Regions from separate parts of the Homo sapiens genome. Here region 2 is linked to region 1. The links are contacts of gene promoters, found by promoter capture Hi-C in human tissues and cell types (Jung and others, 2019). All regions are on one chromosome and are shown on one strand. Each heading gives the region's core, a stretch centred on a gene start or on the middle of the fragment in contact. The rest is flanking DNA. Distances are from core to core; before and after follow the strand shown.

Region 1 (5,970 bases), core at 1,646-4,145:
AATTTTTACCCCCAGCCCCATGTAAGTATGTTGTATTTCCCCAACTAGTCACAGACTGAAAGCTGAGGACAAGAAGCCTGCCTTTCATATTGTGAGATATGCTCCCAATAATGGATACTCACCGAATATTAACTGGCTGCTGATGGAACAATGAGTTTTACTATACCTCTTTATCTACCTTGCACTCTTGTTGCCAATGAACAAACCACATCCTGGAAAGGATTTTCAAATGGAGAAAAAGTACTGAAAAAATAAATTTCCTCATTTGGAACAAAGGTTTGATTTGCTATGTACTTAGCCCTCTCTGAGGACCACCCATGTAATTTCTCCCCTGAATAATTTGTGAGGTTACCTCTCCTCTGCCCACTAAATGATTTGAAGGTAGATTATATGTGAACTCATCTTTTATCACACAATATCATGTATAATGCTTAGCACAAAGTAGGAACTCAGATATTGACCAACTCATTATTAGTTTTAAACTCATGACAACTTCAGGAGCAATGTGAAAGCTGAGGAAGGAGGTAGAAGCTAGCCCATTCTTGAAACTCTATGCTTGGTTTAGCTCTCCTAGCTCAATACCACAGATTCTGTCCAGACTCAGTGAATATTGAAACATAATAGACAAATGATATGTGTTCAGAGATCAAGGTTGAATTTATGCAACAAGCTTCTTTGTTATAACAGAATTTTCCTTTTGTTGATTAAATTGTTCCACTTTCTCTTCTTTTGCCCCAGGCAATGGATTTTTTTTGTGAAGCCAAGCTTTTAATGAACCAAGTTCATTAAATGTATTAATCATATACTATCTCTTCAGAAAAAAAGGCAAGAGATTGGCCTTTAGTGTGGCACAAATATATTTCTAGATTCAAAATATTTAAACAGGTTAATAGGACTAAAAAGAAACATTTTCAACCTTCTGATTGGCAGGCGGATTTTTCTCTACGTTTCAAAGTCATTCAAACTTAACACAGCTTGCAGATTTCCTAGTACACTGAAGGTGCTTAACGCATTGATTCCTGACAGGATAATTTCCTGGACAGATGGAATTTGGGATGGGAAGGACACTAATATAACTAGGGTACCATTCAAGAATTGTTTAGATGATCTTCTTAATATTACCTTTGAAACTGAAGGAACTAGAACACAGACCATAGTAAATTGTGTTTTAATTACTCCTTCTCCCAGTAAACTTTAGGATTTTTTTACTTTAAGATTGTCACTGGCTTTACTTGGTGGTGGCCCCAGTTCTGACTATAGTAGGTCAGCATGTGGAGTCATTATAGACAGCCTAAATCTATACAGCTTAGAGGAAGACAAAATAAATATATCTTACTCTTTTTTAATTCAATAGTGATTATTCAATCATCTCTCCCTTTTCCAAACTCACAAAACAGTTGCTTATTTTCTGACACTTATAATATCAACCTGTTTTTAAAAGAATTATGTATGCTTTTATATTTATTGCTATAATTTTATTGTTACTACATCTTTTATTATTACTGTAATTAGAATAAAGAGAACTTTATTATTTAAAATGAGAGCTGTGTCTCATAAATATTTGTATTCACTGTGCCCCTCCCCCCACCACCCATCTCACCAAAAAATTTAAAAAATAAAAATAAGGTAACAACCCAGAGGGCAGCCCAATGCCAGGGCTCTAGGCTTCCAATAAGTTTTTGTTGAATTAAATAGATCATTTCCCATTTATAAGCATGACATCATTCTTATACACCAGCCTTACTTTATTATATCCACACACCAATTTCAATGACGTCAAATTCACTTTCTAATTCACTTTCAGCTCTTCTTCTCCTCAAGGTTGTTTCTTTTCTCCCTAGAAAGGGTATTGCGTGGTCCCGTGCAAGGTAAGACTTGGGAGCAAACCCTGCATTCGGAAGCGTTGCGATGTGATATACTAATGAGGAAGTCAGGCGCTAAGCCCTAAGGGTTTCTTATTTCTCCACATTAGCCCACCACTGAGAAGGGAGAACCGGGGAAAGGCGACTGACCTGGCACGTTGGACCCTGTCCGCTTTGGTCCCGGCCACTTTGATCTCACGCGTCTGCCTAATCAAGTTCATCTACCGCCGCGATTGCCCTGATTCAAAGAACAACATTAAATGGTTTGATTATCGGATGGTCATTTCCCTCTTCCCTCCACCCCTGATCTAATTTCTAAACGCCAGTCTCTCGCCTCCCTCTCTAAACTTCCCATCAAAAGAGAATTAGCTCTTCTTCCTTCTTACCCTCGTTTGATGTGCAAATTTCCTTCTCTTTGCACATTTTTCTCGCAGTGGCGGGGGGAGGTGGGGGAGGAGGGCAACTGAAGGACCTCAAAGCCGGGGATCTAACTCAGATCTGCAAACTGCGACTCTAAAGGGTTAATGAGCAACTTGCACCCGCCACCTGGCCCTCTCAGAGGCGTCTTGCTAGAGCCATTGAATTACAGACCGGTTTGTATTTAATACTGAATATGACTTGTGTGCACAGTCAGCGAGTATTGGCATAAAGGAGAGGGGCAAAAAGTGCTTTTGCAGAGCCTATCACCCCTCGGCTCTGTAAAGTATTTCAGATCCGGATAATTCAACCCTTACTGCCAGGCAAGGGCACCCAAGTTCCCAGAGTTCCTGCTGCCGCCTGCATTTATTAAAGTCGTCTGCTATAACGCTCGCTGGTAGCCTTCACCCCGAAGGTGAGCCGGGCCAGCCGAGCGACTAAGCAAGGGAGGGGCGGGGTGAAGAGTGTCAAAGGCCCCCCTTCATGTACACAAACACACCCCCTCCCAGCCCCTCCCAGCGCTTTGAAATCCCATCCCGGCTTTGTTGTCTCCCTCCCAAGGGGCCGGAATGCTCCGGGCCCGCGGTATAAAGGCAGCCGCGGTGGCGGTGGCGGCGCAGAGCTCTGTGCTCCCTGCAGTCAGGACTCTGGGACCGCAGGGGGCTCCCGGACCCTGACTCTGCAGCCGAACCGGCACGGTTTCGTGGGGACCCAGGCTTGCAAAGTGACGGTCATTTTCTCTTTCTTTCTCCCTCTTGAGTCCTTCTGAGATGATGGCTCTGGGCGCAGCGGGAGCTACCCGGGTCTTTGTCGCGATGGTAGCGGCGGCTCTCGGCGGCCACCCTCTGCTGGGAGTGAGCGCCACCTTGAACTCGGTTCTCAATTCCAACGCTATCAAGAACCTGCCCCCACCGCTGGGCGGCGCTGCGGGGCACCCAGGCTCTGCAGTCAGCGCCGCGCCGGGAATCCTGTACCCGGGCGGGAATAAGTACCAGACCATTGACAACTACCAGGTGAGAGGGGTCGGGCACTCAGAGGATGCTCTGACCTTGAAAGGGTCCTATCTGGAGACGAGGGAGTAGAACGTGCTGAATGTGTGCGGTTCAGGGAGCATTTGGTAACCCTGCATTTGGGAGCAGTGGGCAGTAACAGGTTTTGGAGAGGTGGACAGATAAGGACTGTGATCAGCGCCCGGGTCCAAGAGGGCGGGTACCTGGACGTCTGGGTGCCTCACCCTCTCCCCGAACCCTTCCCACAGCCGTACCCGTGCGCAGAGGACGAGGAGTGCGGCACTGATGAGTACTGCGCTAGTCCCACCCGCGGAGGGGACGCAGGCGTGCAAATCTGTCTCGCCTGCAGGAAGCGCCGAAAACGCTGCATGCGTCACGCTATGTGCTGCCCCGGGAATTACTGCAAAAATGGTGAGTCCTGAAAGCTCCCTTTCACACTAAAACTGTCCAGCCTTTGAGCGTCTATGAATTGGGCGGGGGCGGGGGGTTGGGGGGGGTGGGGGGAGAAATCTCCGCCCTGAGAACACTGCGGCGCCACCTGCAAATGGGTGTTCAGCATGCAGGATTCCGCTGAAGTATCTTCATTGCAAGTGTTTAATCGGGAAGAAGAGAGAAGTTGGGAGGTCTCTGAGGTCCTTATCTTCCTCCGTGTCCCTCAATGATTCAATACAACGGTTCACCTCGTAGTGGACTCTTCCATAAAAATTTGTCTGGGGAGAACCTTGAGGTCAATTGAGAAGGGGGATGATGAGGAGGACGATGGGATCATACAGATATCAAAGAAACCAGCTTTGGCGTTCAGCTGTCCTTTTCATTTTTCTTATTGTGATTCTCACAGTTTTGCCAGACTGGCCTCGCCTTCTGATTTTTGCTGAAACTGTTGTCAGCCAGAGGACTGATTTATCTGCATTGGCCATTTTTAAGAGAGATCTTGGTACCCTCACAACTTGACTTCTCCATCCTTCCCCCTCCCTCTACCCTCTGCTGCCTTAATATAAGTACTCCTCCCCCCAACCACAGATCCACTAACTTTTAATTTTTCAAAAGGTGGATTTAGACAGCTAAAGAGGTCTCCAGAAATAAGCTAACAGGGCGACGACCCTCCTTAGGACCCAGCAGTACTCCAGGATGAACTAAGTAAATCTCTGTAATATAGAAATTACACAGTAAAGTAACTGGCCGGTGAGATTGCAATGTTCCAGGCAGCTGGAATTGCATTTGCTTAACTTAGTCTGGTAGGACCCATATAGCACCAGGGGCAGAGAAGTTATTTTTAAGAACATTTTTAAAGTGACTGAGTTTCTTTTTCTTACCCCAAAGGTAATATTAAAATGGGCAGAAATCTCACTTGCCCCTACCACAGTTGGTGGGAAAGTATTTTAAATGGCTATACTGGGGATATTACCTATGACTGACTGTATACAGTATACACATTGGTGCTTCTGTCCATCTGGAGAGTTTTGCATTAACAGTAAAGAGGAAGTTTGGCTTGTGTTTAAAATGATGTCACTGCAATGAAGTATCTCAAGTTGATGCTGGCATAACAGACTGCCACTGTCACAGCTGTTAGCAGTAATGCATTACAACCCTGAAGTTAATCACTATTTCCTGCTTCCTTAGGAATATGTGTGTCTTCTGATCAAAATCATTTCCGAGGAGAAATTGAGGAAACCATCACTGAAAGCTTTGGTAATGATCATAGCACCTTGGATGGGTATTCCAGAAGAACCACCTTGTCTTCAAAAATGTATCACACCAAAGGTAAGGATGTTAAGACTCATTCTTAGCACATCAGAAGTGTCTTTTGAATTATTTTAGTGAAACGATGCAGGTTTAACAGTAACTATGTACTTTTTTCCTACTGTCTTCTCCTTCGTAGGACAAGAAGGTTCTGTTTGTCTCCGGTCATCAGACTGTGCCTCAGGATTGTGTTGTGCTAGACACTTCTGGTCCAAGATCTGTAAACCTGTCCTGAAAGAAGGTCAAGTGTGTACCAAGCATAGGAGAAAAGGCTCTCATGGACTAGAAATATTCCAGCGTTGTTACTGTGGAGAAGGTCTGTCTTGCCGGATACAGAAAGATCACCATCAAGCCAGTAATTCTTCTAGGCTTCACACTTGTCAGAGACACTAAACCAGCTATCCAAATGCAGTGAACTCCTTTTATATAATAGATGCTATGAAAACCTTTTATGACCTTCATCAACTCAATCCTAAGGATATACAAGTTCTGTGGTTTCAGTTAAGCATTCCAATAACACCTTCCAAAAACCTGGAGTGTAAGAGCTTTGTTTCTTTATGGAACTCCCCTGTGATTGCAGTAAATTACTGTATTGTAAATTCTCAGTGTGGCACTTACCTGTAAATGCAATGAAACTTTTAATTATTTTTCTAAAGGTGCTGCACTGCCTATTTTTCCTCTTGTTATGTAAATTTTTGTACACATTGATTGTTATCTTGACTGACAAATATTCTATATTGAACTGAAGTAAATCATTTCAGCTTATAGTTCTTAAAAGCATAACCCTTTACCCCATTTAATTCTAGAGTCTAGAACGCAAGGATCTCTTGGAATGACAAATGATAGGTACCTAAAATGTAACATGAAAATACTAGCTTATTTTCTGAAATGTACTATCTTAATGCTTAAATTATATTTCCCTTTAGGCTGTGATAGTTTTT
Region 2 (5,511 bases), core at 1,603-4,102, 1.3 Mb before region 1:
TGCCAGAGCGGGTTGTTTAAAGAGCCTGAAAAACCCCCCTCTCTCACCATGTGATACATCGGCTCCCCTTTGCCTTTCCACCATGATTAAAAGCTTCCTGAAGTCCTGACCAGAAGCAGATGCTGGTGCCATGCTTCTTGTACAGCCTGCAGAGCCATCAGCCATTTAAACCTCTTTTCTTTATAAATTACCCAGCCTCAGGTATTCCTTTATGGCAACACAAAATGGACTAACAAAACTACCTCTCAGTTTCAGAAGGTCCCATTTGATTCACTGATTTTAATTTTTTTACTAGTTAGAGATTCCTATGGAGAAAGGACTCAAGAGGTCACCTAGTTTCTTGAGTGCTTTCCTACCTTCACAGATTATATTGTCTGGAAAAGATCAATCTTGACTCTATTTGCATTTTCAAAAGTATTCATTGATGAATCTTCTAAATTTTCCCTTTAGAATTCAGTCTTATGTCTAACAAATTTCTAGGTGGTAGATTGGAATTCACAGAGGGTGGATAAAAGGTTATTAACATTAATCTCCTAGGCCCTTCATATATAGAGGCATATTTACCCTGTTTGCAAAGTAGGTCAAGCTGTAACTCTTAAATTTGTGACAATGTTGGTTTTCTCAACTAAATTTAAATTTTCTGGAGGACAAGCCACTTTTCATAGACCTTGGCGATAGACCAAAGAATCTAGCAGAAAGACAAAGAGATGGCAGCTTCTCAACAAATGCTTTAGAATGGTCTTAAACCAAGAGTCTCTAAATAGATATTATTTATTATCTAGACCCAAGGATTGGAGCAGAGGGCAGGAGGTGAATGGGAAAGAATGAGGAAGAAGGAAACGTATTTATTGAGTGGCCAGTGTGCATCAAGCATATTGCTCTTTACTGTATACATGCAGTATCTTGTTTTTATCATATCAGCCCTATGAAGTAAATACTGTGACACAATTTTATGGATAGAATTAAGGCTCAGAGAAGTTACATGAGTTATCCAAGATCACAAGACCAGTATGTGGTCAAAATGCAAGTCCACCTGATGCCTTCCCATGCTCTTTTCTTGTTCACGCAGGATTATAACATATCACAGTTTATTATATATCTCATCATATGAATAGAAATATGCCAGTTATGTTAAGCAGAAATTATGCACTGTGAAACCTTGAACTAAGAAATGAACCTGTGATTTTAGGTGTTTTTTCAATTAAACAAGAAAGCCTAAAGAAATGTTAAGCCTATTGAGCAATATAGCATATCATTTATATGAAGCATATTTATCTCAAAGCTGGTTGGATGCTCTGTATAGGAAAAACATTAAAATTGTTCTGCTTCACTGAAGTTGAGTGGGGGGAACTGCAGGTTTTCTTGGGAAATCTTCCAGCTGTTCAGTGTGTGCTGAGAAGAACATTCCAGGCTCCTGAAGCAGCTGCCAGTGTCCTTGGAACTCAGCAGAGAGACAACAGGCTGCCAGGATCATGTGTACCTGTTGTCTCCAATTCCTGCCTCTCTGAGGATCTGTGACTTGCAGCTCATTGGCACCACCCCTCTGCTGGTATTTAGTATTGACAGTCTCAGCTCTACTTCTCCAATTTTAACCCCCAAAGGTCTCTTGGCAACTCTCATCTGCTATTATTATTTCCTCTTTCATCTTTTTTTTTTTGCCCTTGTCGATTTTTTAAACTTCTGAACTTTAATTTAATAGATTTTATTTCCACAGACAATGAAGATAATGCATGTGTTCAATGTAATATACAAATATTATTTTGGTGCCAGCCATGGTGGCTCACACCTGTAATCCCAGCACTTTGGGAAGCTGAGGGAGGTGGTTCACTTAAAGTCAGGAGTTCGAGACCATCCTGGCCAACATGGCAAAACCCCGTCTCTACTAAAAATACAAAAATTAGCTGGGAATGGTGGCTCATGCTTCTAATCCCAACTACTCAGGAGGGTGAGGCAGGAGAATCACTTGAACCCGGGAGGCAGAGGTTGCAGTGAGCTGAGACTGCGACACTGCACTACATGCAGTGGGGGGGTGACTCTGTCTCAAACAAACAAACAAACAAATATTATTTTGGGGTATGTGTATGTGTGCATATGTGTGTTTATTCTAAGCTTTCTTATTGAAATTTTTTTTAATTTCTTATTTTTAAAAATAAAAATTGTGGGTATATAGTAGATGTATATATTTTGGGGGTACATGAGATGTTTTGATACAGGTATGCAATGTGAAATAATCATGTCATGAAGAATGGGATATCCATTCTCTATGCCGACGTATCTTATTTCTACTACAGTTTCTAATTACTTCCCTAACTACTCTGCTTTTTTTCTTCTTTTCTTGTCCCCTAACTTCCATGACTTTCTGTATTCCCTGTCTTAGAATGCTCATCCTTCTCAAAGCTTATATTCCCTTATCTCCAGACATAACTACAGTTCTGATTATTAAGCCTCAGTCTCCTATGTCCAGTTACTCATAGGACATCTTCATTTGGACGTGCTTCCCTCCTTCAAGTATGAAATGCCCACCCCATCATGTCCTCACAACAGGGCACCTTATTTCCATTCCTGATATAGGCACCCTTCAAAATAGTAATAATAGAAGACATTTATTGAAAGCTTACTGGGCAAGCCATTACCCTAATCTATCTTTCTAAGGAAACTGAGGTTGGAGAGGAAAGGTAAATGCTGTGTCTCACAGCTAGTAAGTCGTAAGTGATGGAGCCACAATTTGAAGTCAGTCTCACTATAGGACATGTACCCTTTCCCACACTGCTTTGTTTTATACTTATCTTTGAATAACAGGAATCAGTTTCATCCCTTAATGTCAGGATAATGACATTTAGGTTGGCCAATTTAGGCACTGCTATACACATGGGATGTATCCAATAAATATGTGTTGTATCTACCACACGGCCCTCTAGACACATTTCGGAGTGAAGAGTTATGTTTAAATCACATGTCTTAAAAGGTATGATTCCCAAGCATTAGTGATGAAAATTACTGTGGAAAATACCTGTCATCCAGAGAGCTATGTTTGCAGAAGAAAGGCCATTTTTAATCTAAGCTAATTGAGGACACGGAGGAAAAAAGAAAGTAAATACCCTCAACTCATGGTATTTCAGCATTCCATTGCATTATATCCTGCAGTGTTTGCTCTTATTTCAAGTTTGTTCATTTGTTTTTATGCCTCTCACTATCTCTGTTGTCCCTTTAAGATTTAAATCTTCTGAGGGTTCCTTTTCTCTTTAAGTCACTTTGAATATTATGTAGGCCACAGCATGCCTCACACCAGAGACAATGAGATGCCTCTAGATGATTAGAATTCAAATGATTAGAATTCAGATAGAAGAAAAGAGATACAATTATTAATCAGTGAAACGTGTAAGAAATCACATTTGGACATTACAGTTATTAATTTGCTTTAAATATTTTTATTAGGTGGCAAGCACTCTTCATGAACTTAGAGATTAAGACTCACAATGTATTTCTCTATACTTTAATTGCTTTTTCATCTGAGTTTAAAAATGTGATCCTTGCTCAGTTTTTGAGCTGTAGTTGAAGAGTGCATCAGGACAGGAACTAGTGGAAGTGAGTTGATATCTTTATTCCTCAGGCAATGAATAATAAGTAGTTTGTTGGTAATTTCCATTAATCTGTGAGACAGACAGAATATTATCATGCACTTCACAGTGTGTGTCAGCAATTCTGCCATTTCTAGAAACATAAAATTATCCATGTCTATTTTTCATAAAAACCTTAATTTTTACAGTCTTTCAATGGCAATTTAGTTTTGTCCAAAATTCATAAAATTGACTTGTCATAATTCTCCAATTAAATTTATCCCAACTCAAAAAATATTCTAATTGCTGTATACACTAAATAGAGGAATTTATACTTAGAATTCACAACTTTTTTGCCCTAAACAATCAAATAAGCAAAATTATATATAATATGTTATTTATATATATATATATATATATATATATATATATATATATGCCTTAAAAATTACGGTAAAATTGCTGTAGAAAATTCAGAAAAAAATATATTGAAACTATTAGTTAAATCTTTCCCCATTCTGTACCTAATTTTTAGAAAAAGTTAGAAAACAGTAGGACAAAAGACTGATATTGGGAGTGGGAAGCTTCAAAAATGAACCTGCTTTCTGGATCATTCATTTAGCAAATTACTTATTGAGGCTTCACATGTCTCAGGCCTGTGCTAAGGTGCTGAGAACATTAACCTTGCCCTCAGGCTATTGCCCTCAATCTTCTGTAACATGAGCTCTTTGTGATGGTTTGTTCTTATTTGGAATTCTCAAAATACGTATATTCTGGGAAAAGATCAGAGATGATGGTAACGGTCGTAAAAGGGAGACAGCAAAGTATACACGGTCATGGGGTTTGGGCTCTGGGTTCAGATGCCTGCATTTAAATCTTGGCTCCCTTATGGATGAGCAATGCAATCTTAACCTTGACTGCTCTGTGCCTCAGTTCCACATCTGCAAACAGGAATAATAATGCTGTTTAATTCATAGGGTTATTTGATGATTATGTGAAATACATGCTGAATAAATTTTCATTATCCACGTTGTAACTAACAAAATTAAGTTTCCTCCCCCGACAACTATAGATCTTAGAGCAGGAGACAGCAGCATATTTTTCTCAACGTTCTGTCATTTCATAATTTGTTGGTCATAAGAAACAAAGGCAGCATTAAATTGTCTTGTGGTCTCGGTTGTAGTGTCAGGGTAAAATCAGTTATAGGTCAATAACCTGGCTTTATTAACATAACACCTGGGTGATACCTGACTGGCAGGTATTTCCTGCATGCCTGCATTCCAGTGCTATAACCTGCTCAAGGACACAGAGCGCTCCTTACTTAGCTCTGTAGCCTCAGCACCTAGCGCAATCCTTTATACACAGTAGGCATCTGATATATGTGAATTGCTCAGATACATTCTTTTTTAAAAAATACTTTTAGTTAAAAATATACCTTTACTAAATTATAAACTTATTACATGCACTTGTGGATCATTTGGAAACAACGGAGCTTAAAAAAACTACAAGCTTAAAAAATTGAAATCACCTATAACCCTATTATCTAGCAATAACCATTAACATTCTCTTATATGTCTTTCTACTGTTTATCCATGAGTACATACCTTTATTTATTTATTTATTTATTTATTTTCAGAAAGACAATCATAAACACTACTTTTGGTAGCCTACTTTTAATTCAATAATATTTAACTCATATTTGTCCAGGTAATTACATAGTCTTCTGAAACATATGATACAAGTTATCCCATGTTTATTCTTGAACATTTCAATCGTATCCCATTTTATGCCTTTGTATTGAAATCACTGTAGTTAAGTACTGACATGCTCCTTGCTGTCCCCTTGCCTCTGCCAATGTGCTTCCATACTATTGTGTGCTTAACTTACTACAGAGCCTACCTATGTCATTAGGTTTTTCTGTTTTTTCCTCTTTTTCTCCTCATCAGTCAACATC

The links. Contacts are between HindIII fragments. The study calls those that stand out against the background at their distance.
Region 2: a fragment that was not itself captured here is called in contact with the fragment with the promoter of DKK1 in region 1 in 1 of the 25 tissues and cell types used here (dorsolateral prefrontal cortex).

What each region holds. Positions count from the first base shown.
Region 1 is chr10:52,311,386-52,317,355 of GRCh38, forward strand. It overlaps DKK1 (dickkopf Wnt signaling pathway inhibitor 1), which reads left to right and starts at 2,896. Exons shown (of 4, transcript NM_012242.4): 1 at 2,896-3,292; 2 at 3,538-3,700; 3 at 4,910-5,050; 4 at 5,169-5,970. The coding sequence starts at 3,050. The coding sequence ends at 5,422. PRKG1-AS1 (PRKG1 antisense RNA 1) reads right to left here and starts at 2,743. Exons shown (of 6, transcript NR_038277.1): 1 at 2,249-2,743; 2 at 2,013-2,100. The HindIII fragment of the contact is 6,920 bases long and covers 1-5,940 here.
Region 2 is chr10:51,030,713-51,036,223 of GRCh38, forward strand. It overlaps a transcript of PRKG1 not described here. Among named protein-coding and RNA genes, the nearest start is that of PRKG1, 41 kb to the right of the region's middle. The HindIII fragment of the contact is 3,502 bases long and covers 1,102-4,603 here.